Linked DNA regions of Homo sapiens: all the other regions are linked to region 1. The links are contacts of gene promoters, found by promoter capture Hi-C in human tissues and cell types (Jung and others, 2019). All regions are on one chromosome and are shown on one strand. The core of a region is centred on a gene start or on the middle of the fragment in contact, and the rest is flanking DNA. Distances in the headings are between cores, read along the strand shown. Region 1 holds the start of ZBTB26 (zinc finger and BTB domain containing 26). Region 2 has its middle 8.5 kb from the start of STRBP. Region 3 overlaps DENND1A (DENN domain containing 1A). Region 4 overlaps LOC124902266 (a long non-coding RNA gene).

Region 1 (2,700 bases), core at 89-2,588:
GGTCAAAGAAGAAATCAAGGTCAGGCACGGTGGCTCACACCTGTAATCCCAGCACTTTGGGAGGCCAAGGCGGGTGGATCACCTGAGGTCGGGAGTTCGACACCAGCCTGACCAACACGGAGAAACCACGTCTCCATATCTCTAAATATCAAATTAGCCCGGTGTGGTGGCGCATGCCTGTAATCCCAGCTACTTTAGAGACGGAGGCAGGAGAACCGCTTGAACCCAGGAGGCGGAGGTTGCGGTGAGCCGAGATCACACCATTGCACTCCAGCCTGGGCAACAAGAGCGAAACTCCATCTCAAAAAAAAGAAAAAAAAAGAAGAAGAAATCAAAAGGGAAATTAGAAAATACTTAGAAATGAATGAAAATAACACAACATACAAAAACTTATGAGCTGTAGTGAAAACAGTGATCAAAGTGAAATGTATAGTTGTAAATAACTACATTAAAAAGAGGGAAAGGCTGGGAGCAGTGGCTCACACATGTAATCCCAGCACTTTGGGAGGCTGAGGAGGGTGGATCACTTTAACTCCAGAGTTCAAGACCATCAAGTTTTACACTTACAAATGATTAAAGTAATAAACATTACGCATGTTTTACCTCAATAAAAAGCCCCTCACCACCACCAAAAACGAAAAGAATGGTCAAAAACCAGTAAACTGGATTGGCAAGGAAAAGAACTCTAGAAGGATCCTCAAGTTTTCCGGTCTGGATAGGAGATGAGATGAACTTGAGATCATTAAAAGGTACTTTCACATCAGGACAGCTGGAGATCTCGTCCATGTAGCTGCCTGGGTTGTGAATGGTCAGCATGAAGTAGGTAACGGAAGCCATGGGAGTGCAAGAGTTTGCCCTAGGAAGAACTCCAAGGCAAGAACCCTGAAAAACACATCCAAAAGTGAGGGGAGAGCTTTCTGCTCTTCGGGCTCCCGCGCGACGAGTCTACACCCCTAGGCTAAAAAGACTTACCAAAGTTTAAGTGCAGAGGAGCCCTTCAGGCCCAAGGAGGCAGCGGACCGTCTAGGCCCAGCTACAGAAGAGCCGCTGAGACGGGGGTCCCGAGCAGCGGGTCCCTGCGAGGCGCACAGGGCCTGAGCCACAGACGCTTACGAGCTAAGGCACCTCGGGGTAGTAGGCAGTGAAGCTAGTGCCCAGAGTACGGTGCCCTCCGTCTGCGCCCCGCCCACAACGCAGAAATTCCCTCTCGGGGCCCCTGTTGTCCTCCGAGCCTTCCGATTGGCGGAGAGGACCATGGGACCTGGAAGTTGTCTTTGTCCGGCCAGGGCTGCCCTTCCGGTTCCGTTGGGTCCCCCTTTGGCTCGGGTTCCTTGCCCCTCCCCCTTCCCGGAGCCCCGAGGGGCCGGAGCTCCTGGCGGTGCCGGATCCTGACGGCGGCCTTCCCCCGGGTCTGTAAGTGCGGAGACGGCCGGAGCGGCGGGCTGGGGTGCGGGGTGTCTCAAAATGGAACCCCCCTGGGGCCCTGGATCAACCGGGACCTGCACTGGGATGGGAGCCGAGAGGCTGGCCTAGGCCCCTGGGGACTTGAGGAGCCCTTGGCCCGGCCCACGCTGCGCCCCGCCCCTTTCCCTTCCCTGTGACTGGAGTGGGGAGCCTGAGGATGCCCCTGGGACCGCCTCATAGGACCCCAGCTGAGGGCCCAGCAGTTGGCTTGGGGGCCTGACTCTGGCATCTTATAAGAAGTGCCAGAGGTGAGGCCCTAAGAAAACGAGCCTCGGGAGCCAGCCCAAGACCAGGCATTCAGTGCCAGTCTTTGAGAACCACTGTGAGTGCTAGGTTACCCTTTTGCTGGGGTTTTCCCCTATTTGGCCACTGGTCGCAGCACCTTTTATATTACTGGCGCTATACCAGACACTGGAGATTGGCAAGATATTGTTCCAGTTTTCGGGATTAAGTTTGGGAGCCAGATCTGAACAAATAAGTACTCCTATGTGTATATATATGTATGTATGTATCAGTCACATATGTGTTAATTGCTCAAGGGGCCGTTGCTGAGAAGGCTTTAGAAAGAAAGTGATGTCTGAATTGTACTTGGAGAGAGTAAAGTGTTGAAGAGTTTTTCAGGGAAGACAGTTGCAATACTGTGGAGAAATGACTGAGCATAACTTGTGTGGGAAGAGGAGGAAATGGGGGGACTCCTATGCACAGAATGGATATGAGACTGGGAAAGTCGACCGAGGTCCAGATGGTGAATGGTGTAATCCTAAAGGAGATGGGTAGTTTTTTGAAGAGTTCGGAACAGAATATTGATATGGTCAGATTTGCACTGCAGGAAATCATTTTGTTCTGTAGAAAGCCCATAGAGAAGGGACTTTCTATTAACTGCATTTAGACATTTAGCTAAAAGTTAGGAACGCTTATCGGAGATTCTTTTGAAGGGGTAATGGGATCAGCCTAGTGAGAGGCAAAAAATTCCTGAAATAAGTTATAATGGTGTCATTGGTAAGGAGACAAATATACTGGAGATGATTATGTCAAGACTCCATAATTAACTGAATGCTGAAGAAGTGTGAGGGACCAAATCTAATTCTTAGGTTTTAGACCTCTGAGCTGAAGGATGGTAATGCCATTATCAGAAATAAAGCCATAAGCTTAGTGTAGATTATGAATTCATTTTTTGGACATGTTGAATTAAAGGTCTAATGAGACAGACACATAGAGCTGTCCAGCATGGAGTTG
Region 2 (2,700 bases), core at 37-2,536, 350 kb before region 1:
CACCTTGTGGAGAATCACTGTTTTAAAGGAATCAACTTCTTGCTGACCCTTGAAAATTTGGCCTCCAATCTAAGATATCTGCCTCTGTTAAACTCTGTCACTTTAGGCAATCACTTTGCACAAACATCATCACTAAATTTTGGGGTGCCAGAGATTGTTTACAAGATGGTTGTCTTAGTGATTCCTACTCATATTATTATTATTTGTAGATTATAATTGAAACCAAGACATCCATTTAGAAACTTATCTTAGCACTTGTGGACCCCTGAAAATATGTCCACCAAGAAATCCACAGACACCTCAGAACTTTGCCTGGTCTGTGAAATACTGGGGCTGGATGATTTCTTAGGGCTTTCCTGCTGCCTTAAGCCCGTCTTGTTCTAGAAGTCTAGGACCTTGCTGTTCAAACTGGAATGGGCAGCACAGTAATTGAGAACACTGAGCTGAATCCCACGTCTTCCACTTATTGGCTCAGTGATATAGTGCAAATTACTTACCTTCTTGGAGCCTTAGTCTCCTCATCTATAAATTAAGATAAAAATTGTACCTACTTCATAGGACTGTTGCAAGGTTTAAAGACATAATGCATGTTAAGTGCTTAATATATTGCCTGGCACATAATAAGTGCTTAATAAATGTTGGCTGTTAGTATAATTACCACCAGAGCTAGGCGGTGGTATGCCAGGAATTACTCAGAGCCACAGCATGAACAAGAAATGTCTTCCTGGAGTGTGAATTTCTACTTAAAGAGTTGGGAAAACAGGCTTTGAATTTTTCTCCTAAAGGGTGGTAATTAAAAACATTATTTTAATGTTAAAACAAACATGGGAATAAAACATAAAATTTGCATGAATTTTAAAGATAAAATGTGAGACTTCAAAGAATTTTTTTTTTTTTTTTTTTTTTTTTTTTTTTTGAGACAAAGACTCGCTCTGTCACCCAGGCTGGAGTGCAGTGGCGCAAGCTTGGCTCACTGCAACCTCTGCCTCCCGGGTTCAAGCAATTCTCCCTGCTTCAGCCTCCCACGTAGCTGGGATTACAGGTGCCCGCCACCATGCCCAGCTAATTTTTGTATTTTTAGTAGAGATGGTGTTTCGCTATGTTGGCCAGGTCTGGTCTTGAACTCCTGGACTAAAGTGATCTGCTTGCCTCAGCCTCCCAAAGTGCTGGGATTACAGGCATGAGCCACCCCGCCCGGCCAGACTTCAGAGAAATTTTATGCTTGAGGTTGGTGAATCTGGGCCTCTTTTCCAGACCTCCAGTGGGGCTGACTCAATCTTCCCAGCCAGGCGCAAGTACTTTGGTGGGAAAGTTTAAGCAGTAGTTCTGGGCTTTTTTGCATCTTGGGCCAATAGAATTATCAAGGGTATTAGCAGAGATTCTGTAGGAAGCAGGGGCTTCTGACCAAGAGTCTATGCTCTCTTCTTGCAGGTTTCTCCCCTTCCAAATTGTTTTGGGGTTTGTTACTCAAGGTAGGGGAATGGGAAATTTTGCTAGGTATTCATTCAACAAATATTTAATAGTTGACTACTGTATGCCCAGCACTATTCTAAGGGATACAAAAAGAACAAATCAAAAAAAAATTCTACACACATAAGTCCTATACTATCAGTAGCTATAATAGTCTCAATAAGGGAATTGAAAATGGGGAACAGTAGGAGAGATGGTTTTGGAGTTTAGGAGAAAGATTAGGTAATTATGGACAGTTGAGTAGCATGTGACATCCAAGTAGATCCTGAGTTGGCTGTTGAATGAGATTCTAGAGCCATGGTTTTCATTGGGAGCTTTTAGACATTTGTGGTGGAGTTGGGTAATCATAATGGTATTGATTGAGGGGGAGAAGTCTGAGATGCTAGATGTCATATAATGCATGGATAGCATTGCATGATTTTTTTTTTTTTTTTTGAGATGGAGTCTCGCTCTGTCACCCAGGCTGGAGCGCAGTGGCGTGATCTCGGCTCACTGCAAACTCCACCTATCGGGTTCAAGTGATTCTCCTGCCTCAGCCTCCCAAGTAGCTGGGATTACAGGCGCCCACCACCACGCCTGGCTAACTTTTGTATTTTTAGTAGAGACAAGGTTTCACCATGTTGGCCAGGCTGGTCTCAAACTCGTGACCTCAAGTGATCCACCCGCCTTTGCCTCCCAAAGTACTGGGATTACAGGCGTGAGCCACCATGCCTGGCCTCATGTCATATGACTTTTGAATGTCCCACTGGACACTTACATGGGTGAAAGTCCCATATATAATTATGTGAGCTTAACAACTAATTTCCATTTTTAATATAAACACAAAGTACATTCTAGCATGATTTTAATACTCCAGGGAGGCAAATACTATGCAAAGTGAATGAAGATTATATCTTGTTTTGCTTAGACCCTACCAAGAGTTATTCACCATTTCAGACATCATATCAGCAACAGCAATTCTGCTATGGCATTTGAGGCTCTGATTGGCATCTGTACCTGCTGAAATTGGGTCTGTGCTTCTCGAATGGTAAGGTGCAGGTGAATCACCTGGAGATCTTGTTTCTTTCTTTTTTCTTTTTAAACAATGGAAGAGACTGCTTGGATAATAATGGAAATAATCCAGTAGAGAGGGAGAGGCTGGCCATACCAGAGAGGAACAAACTAGGAAGTGTAGTTCCTTAGAGGGCAGGAAAGGAGGGCGTCCAGGCACTGGGGAAGGGAGCTGGCCTT
Region 3 (2,700 bases), core at 90-2,589, 450 kb before region 1:
GACCAGAGGTGGAACCAAGGTTAGCAGGGCAAGCTTAGGCCCAGACAGCTCCCCTGGAGAGCTTCCCCAGCCCAGTTCCCCATGGGCTGTTCACAGAACCTGACTGTGGCTGTGCCTAGGCCACCAAACAAACAGCAGAGCAGGGCGGGAGCAAGAGGAGCATGACTGCTGGCCTGTGAGCCCCCTTCCAGTCCTGTCTGTTCCTCACACCTTGTCTGAATGGCTCACAAGCCCAGTAGCCAGTTTTATGAAAGGACCTGTAGTTTGGGGGGCACTAAATGGGTCCCCTGAGTGCAAGTGAGAGCCAAAGCGAGTTGCCCTGGTTCACAGCCCCAGGCCCATCGGCATGCCCAGCTTGCACCCTCGCAGCCTCCCAGACTCCTGCCCTCACGGAGACCCCGGGACACTCTCCTGTCCCGCAGGCCCCTGCGTGCACCCCTCAAGCCCTCAATGTGCTTGGGCTGGAGTCCGCTTGCTCCTCCCCTGAAGGCCTGGGTGGGAGAGTGCAGCCTGCTCTGTCCCCGACAGGCCGCAGCCGTATCGGACACTCAGGGAGTCAGACAGCGCGGAAGGCGACGAGGCAGAGAGTCCAGAGCAGCAAGTGCGGAAGTCCACAGGCCCTGTCCCAGCTCCCCCTGACCGGGCTGCCAGCATCGACCTTCTGGAAGACGTCTTCAGCAACCTGGACATGGAGGCCGCACTGCAGCCACTGGGCCAGGCCAAGAGCTTAGAGGACCTTCGTGCCCCCAAAGACCTGAGGGAGCAGCCAGGGACCTTTGACTATCAGGTATGGCATGGGCAAGGGAGGGTATCGGCCGGGGGCCGGCACTGTCCGCACACGAGGTGGGATCCCCATGTGACAGTGGAAGAGACTAAGGGAGAAACAGTGACTTTCCAAGACCCTCAGCCAATGCTCAGGGTCAGTGTGACTGTAAACACCTCCCAGGGTGCCGGGGCCCACACCACCCTAACAGTGACGGTAGGAGAAGATGCTAGAGCCCGATGGAAACTTGCCCCACTCTGTGTGTGCATCAGACGGGGGGGCGGGTGCTGCCAGCCACTCTCCTCGCACCCCCAGGCAGGGCTGCAGCCCCTGCTGGAACCGGGATTGCGTCCATCCCTGCCAGGGCTCCTTGGCAGAGCCTGTGGATGCAAGTTCTTGGCTCTGCATTATGAATGCAAATCAGTGTGTAATTCCCACTGTGACGTCTAATCCATCACATCCCCGCTCGGTGCCTCAGTTTCCTCACTTGCAAGTGGGGTCTTCTGACTTTGCATCACTGGGTCACACCGTGGGGTTCACAGAGCTCCAGTCATTCATGAGTGTTCCCTGCTGGGAACGAGGACCTGGGCCAGGAGAAAGGGACTGGCACCCGGGCCGTGTGGCTTGCAAGTGGCAGAGCCAGGACTCCAACTTGGCCTCCTCCTTCCTCCCCAGCCAAGGTGCCTCCTACCAGGCCCTGAGTCTCACTCGCGCCCCCGGGCTTACAGGTGATTGCGGGTGCCTGCGATCTAAAAAGTAAAAAGGGCCAGCCGGTAGCTGGAGTCACTTTCCTAAAACTCCTTGGCAACCGCCACTGGCATAAAGGGACGAGAGCTTTGTCTTGAGTTCCCGGAGCACAGGCTTGGAGTCCCAGCACACGTGGGTCCTCTGCTGGTAACCTGGGGGAGCCCTCAGCTGTTCCAAGTCCGAGGAGCTGATCAGCCACACAACTAGGCCCAGCACACATTCAGCACACAGAAGTGGTGTGGGAATGGGCACACATATGTCCCAACTCAGCCCGTGGTCACTGCCGCCCTCCTTCCCTCCCAACAGAGGCTGGATCTGGGCGGGAGTGAGAGGAGCCGCGGGGTGACAGTGGCCTTGAAGCTTACCCACCCGTACAACAAGCTCTGGAGCCTGGGCCAGGACGACATGGCCATCCCCAGCAAGCCCCCAGCTGCCTCCCCTGAGAAGCCCTCAGCCCTGCTCGGAAACTCCCTGGCCCTGCCTCGAAGGCCCCAGAACCGGGACAGCATCCTGAACCCCAGTGACAAGGAGGAGGTGCCCACCCCTACTCTGGGCAGCATCACCATCCCCCGGCCCCAAGGCAGGAAGACCCCAGAGCTGGGCATCGTGCCTCCACCGCCCATTCCCCGCCCGGCCAAGCTCCAGGCTGCCGGCGCCGCACTTGGTGACGTCTCAGAGCGGCTGCAGACGGATCGGGACAGGCGAGCTGCCCTGAGTCCAGGGCTCCTGCCTGGTGTTGTCCCCCAAGGCCCCACTGAACTGCTCCAGCCGCTCAGCCCTGGCCCCGGGGCTGCAGGCACGAGCAGTGACGCCCTGCTCGCCCTCCTGGACCCGCTCAGCACAGCCTGGTCAGGCAGCACCCTCCCGTCACGCCCCGCCACCCCGAATGTAGCCACCCCATTCACCCCCCAATTCAGCTTCCCCCCTGCAGGGACACCCACCCCATTCCCACAGCCACCACTCAACCCCTTTGTCCCATCCATGCCAGCAGCCCCACCCACCCTGCCCCTGGTCTCCACACCAGCCGGGCCTTTCGGGGCCCCTCCAGCTTCCCTGGGGCCGGCTTTTGCGTCCGGCCTCCTGCTGTCCAGTGCTGGCTTCTGTGCCCCTCACAGGTCTCAGCCCAACCTCTCCGCCCTCTCCATGCCCAACCTCTTTGGCCAGATGCCCATGGGCACCCACACGAGCCC
Region 4 (2,700 bases), core at 50-2,549, 410 kb before region 1:
TACTCTGTGCCAAGCACTTCGCAAGCGTTACGTCACCAAGTCTTCGCAGAACCCTCGAGTGACTCACCACCGTTATTCCTGTTTTACAGATAAGGAAACCGAAGCACAGAGAGGCAGGTCATCTGGCTGAGGTCACACAGCCACACGGCGAGAGAGCAGTGAAGCTGGAGTTCCAGCAAGCTCCACCTGGCGAGAATTCAAGCCCTGCCATGGGCCACCTCTCTGGAGGAAGAGAAAGCCAGCTTCAGACTCTGCCTCTCTCAATCCTTATACAAGGCCAGAGAGCGCTTGAGGCTTCCAGGCACTCCTATGCTTACACACCTTCCATGGCTCCCAGCTGCCCTCCAGATAAAGAACAATCTCCTCAGTGTGGCCCTTGAGGTCCTGTGATCTGGCCTCTGTCCACCACCAGGGCCCCCCTCCTGGCCAGATCTCTGAGCCTCGGCCAAGCTGACCTGCTTCTCTCAGGGCCTCAACAGGGCCGATCTCCATCCCTGCTGTTCCCTTGGTCCAGCATGCTGTTCCCCTCTAGTTGCTTCTCCTTACCCTGGGGGCCTCCACTCAAATGCCACCTCCTCCACTGGCCGGACGCTGCCATTAACCTGCTCGAGTGCTCTCCCTGCAAAACTCAGCACAGGCTGGGCACAGTGGCTCATGCCTGTAATCCCAGCACTTTGGGAGGCCGAGGTAGGATGACTGTTCGAGCCCAGGAGTTCAAAACCAGCCTGGGCAACAAAGTGAGATCCTGTCTCTATTTTTTAAAAAATTAGCCGGGCGCAGTGGAGCACAACTGTAGTCCCAGCTACTCAGGAGCTTAAGGCTAGGGGGTAGCTTGAGCCCAGGAGTTCGAGGCTGCAGTGAGCTGTGATCACATCACTGCACTCCCACCTGGGTAACAGAGCAAGACCCTGTCTCAAAAAAAAAAAAAAAAAAAAAAGACCCATAGCACAATTGTAATCATGTGGGTCATTGTGGGGTGGTGAGTCACAGCTGGTGAGTGGCAGAATCAAGACCAGGTCCAGGTGGTACAGCCACAGAGCTGGTGCCCCCAAGTACTCGGCTGCTCACACGGGCCCCAAGAGACCTCCTCACTGGCAAGAGGAAGCCACCTCCTCTCAGAAGAATGAGCAGGGCTAGAGTACAGTGGCACAATCACTTCTCACTGCAGTCTCGAACTCTCTGGCTCAAGCAATCCTCCCACCTCAGCCTCCTGAGTAGCTGGGACTACAGTCGTGTGCCACCACACCTAGCTAATTTTTTCTATTTCTTGTAGAGGTGGAGTCTTCCTATATAGCTCAGGCTGGTCTCAAAATCCTGGACTCAAGCAATCCTCCTGCCTCAGCCTTCCAAAGTGCTGGGATTACAGACATGAACCACCGTCCCCTGTAACTACTGTTTAAGAAAGTAAAAAGATGCAGAAGAAGTTAATCTAATATTTTGTTTAACCCACTATACTCCAAATATCATTCCTACATGTAATCAAGATAAAAAAAATTATTAATGGCTGGGTGCCATGGCTCACGCCTGTAATCCCAGCATTTTGAGAGGCCGAGGCAGGCGGATCACCTAGGGTCAGGAGTTCAAGACCAGCCTGACCAACGTGGTGAAACCCTGTCTCTACTAAAAATGCAAAAATTAGCCAGGATTGGTGGCGTGTGCCTGTAGTCCCAGCTACTCAAAAGGCTAAGACAGGAGAATTGCTTGATCTTAGGAGGCAGAGTCTACAGTGAGCCAAGATTGCGCTGCTGCACTCTAGCCTGGGCAACAGAGCAAGACTCTGTCTAAAAAAAAAAATAATAATAAATAAATAATCATTGAGATATCTTACTTTCTTCCATACTAAGTCTTCAAAATCCAGTGTGTATTTCACACTTGTAACACATCTCAGTTTGGAACAGCTGCATTTCAACTGCTCAACAGCCACATGTGGCCAGAGGCTACTGCACTGGGCAGCACAGTGCTAGACTATAAACTCCATGAGGGCAGGGACCAAGCCATACCCACAATTATTAAATCTAGCATCTGACACAGAGTGGACACTCAAGAAATGTTTGTTGACTGACTAGCTGAATGAAAGAATGAATGAACAAATGAATGAAGGAATGAACAAATGATCTAAGGCCTTCTCAGATCTGAAGCCACACTCCCAGCACAGGCCATGGGAAGGGCATGGAGATGAATTCCAGCCCCACCTCTGCACCCACTTCTCTGAGTGACTGTAAGTACCTCCACTTTTGGGGCCTCAGTTTCTCCAGCTGGTCAATGGCTGGGGGGCTGGACTCTTGTGATTTTTCTGGGCTCTCACTAGAGGACTTTACCCAGAAGATGGGAGTTGGGCCCTCGGTGAAGTTCCCTCCTCCATGCCACCCCATCACCCTACTCTCCCTCCACCTGTAAGATAGGAGATCTCAGGAAAGGCCTCCAGGTGGCCTTCTGTACAGAGTGGAGCCACACCCAAGAGGGGAAAGCTGAGGCAAGGCTTGGTACCTTGGCACAGGCAGCAAGGCCAGGGTGGGGGTGCTGAGGCTTGGCCTCCTCCCTCCAGCATCATCACCCCCACACCTCACATTTGTTCAGAGTTGAGAAGAGAGCAGGGCGGGGCTTATCCTTTCAGTTCTGCAGAGAAGGATAAAAGAGACCGAGAGACATGCCAAGACCAGTCTGAGGTCACATGGGGGGCATGACAGAACTGGCTACTGC

Evidence for each region. Contacts are between HindIII fragments. The study calls those that stand out against the background at their distance.
Region 2: a fragment that was not itself captured here is called in contact with the fragment with the promoter of ZBTB26 in region 1 in 2 of the 25 tissues and cell types used here (dorsolateral prefrontal cortex and thymus).
Region 3: a contact is called between a fragment that was not itself captured here and the fragment with the promoter of ZBTB26 in region 1, in 1 of the 25 tissues and cell types used here (dorsolateral prefrontal cortex).
Region 4: a contact is called between a fragment that was not itself captured here and the fragment with the promoter of ZBTB26 in region 1, in 1 of the 25 tissues and cell types used here (mesenchymal stem cells).

The regions. Positions count from the first base shown.
Region 1 is chr9:122,930,150-122,932,849 of GRCh38, reverse strand. ZBTB26 (zinc finger and BTB domain containing 26) reads left to right here and starts at 1,338. Exons shown (of 2, transcript NM_020924.4): 1 at 1,338-1,413. It also overlaps a transcript of RABGAP1 not described here. RefSeq lists a silencer at 1,227-1,566. The HindIII fragment of the contact is 7,569 bases long and covers 1-2,700 here.
Region 2 is chr9:123,275,739-123,278,438 of GRCh38, reverse strand. No RefSeq gene overlaps it. Among named protein-coding and RNA genes, the nearest start is that of STRBP, 8.5 kb to the right of the region's middle. The HindIII fragment of the contact is 6,973 bases long and covers 1-2,700 here.
Region 3 is chr9:123,381,742-123,384,441 of GRCh38, reverse strand. DENND1A (DENN domain containing 1A) reads left to right here. Exons shown (of 24, transcript NM_001352964.2): 23 at 529-787; 24 at 1,817-2,700. Among named protein-coding and RNA genes, the nearest start is that of MIR601, 20 kb to the left of the region's middle. The HindIII fragment of the contact is 4,004 bases long and covers 1-2,700 here.
Region 4 is chr9:123,336,521-123,339,220 of GRCh38, reverse strand. LOC124902266 (a long non-coding RNA gene) reads left to right here. Exons shown (of 2, transcript XR_007061760.1): 2 at 90-1,820. Among named protein-coding and RNA genes, the nearest start is that of CRB2, 18 kb to the left of the region's middle. RefSeq lists enhancers at 1-136, 997-1,156. The HindIII fragment of the contact is 9,022 bases long and covers 1-2,700 here.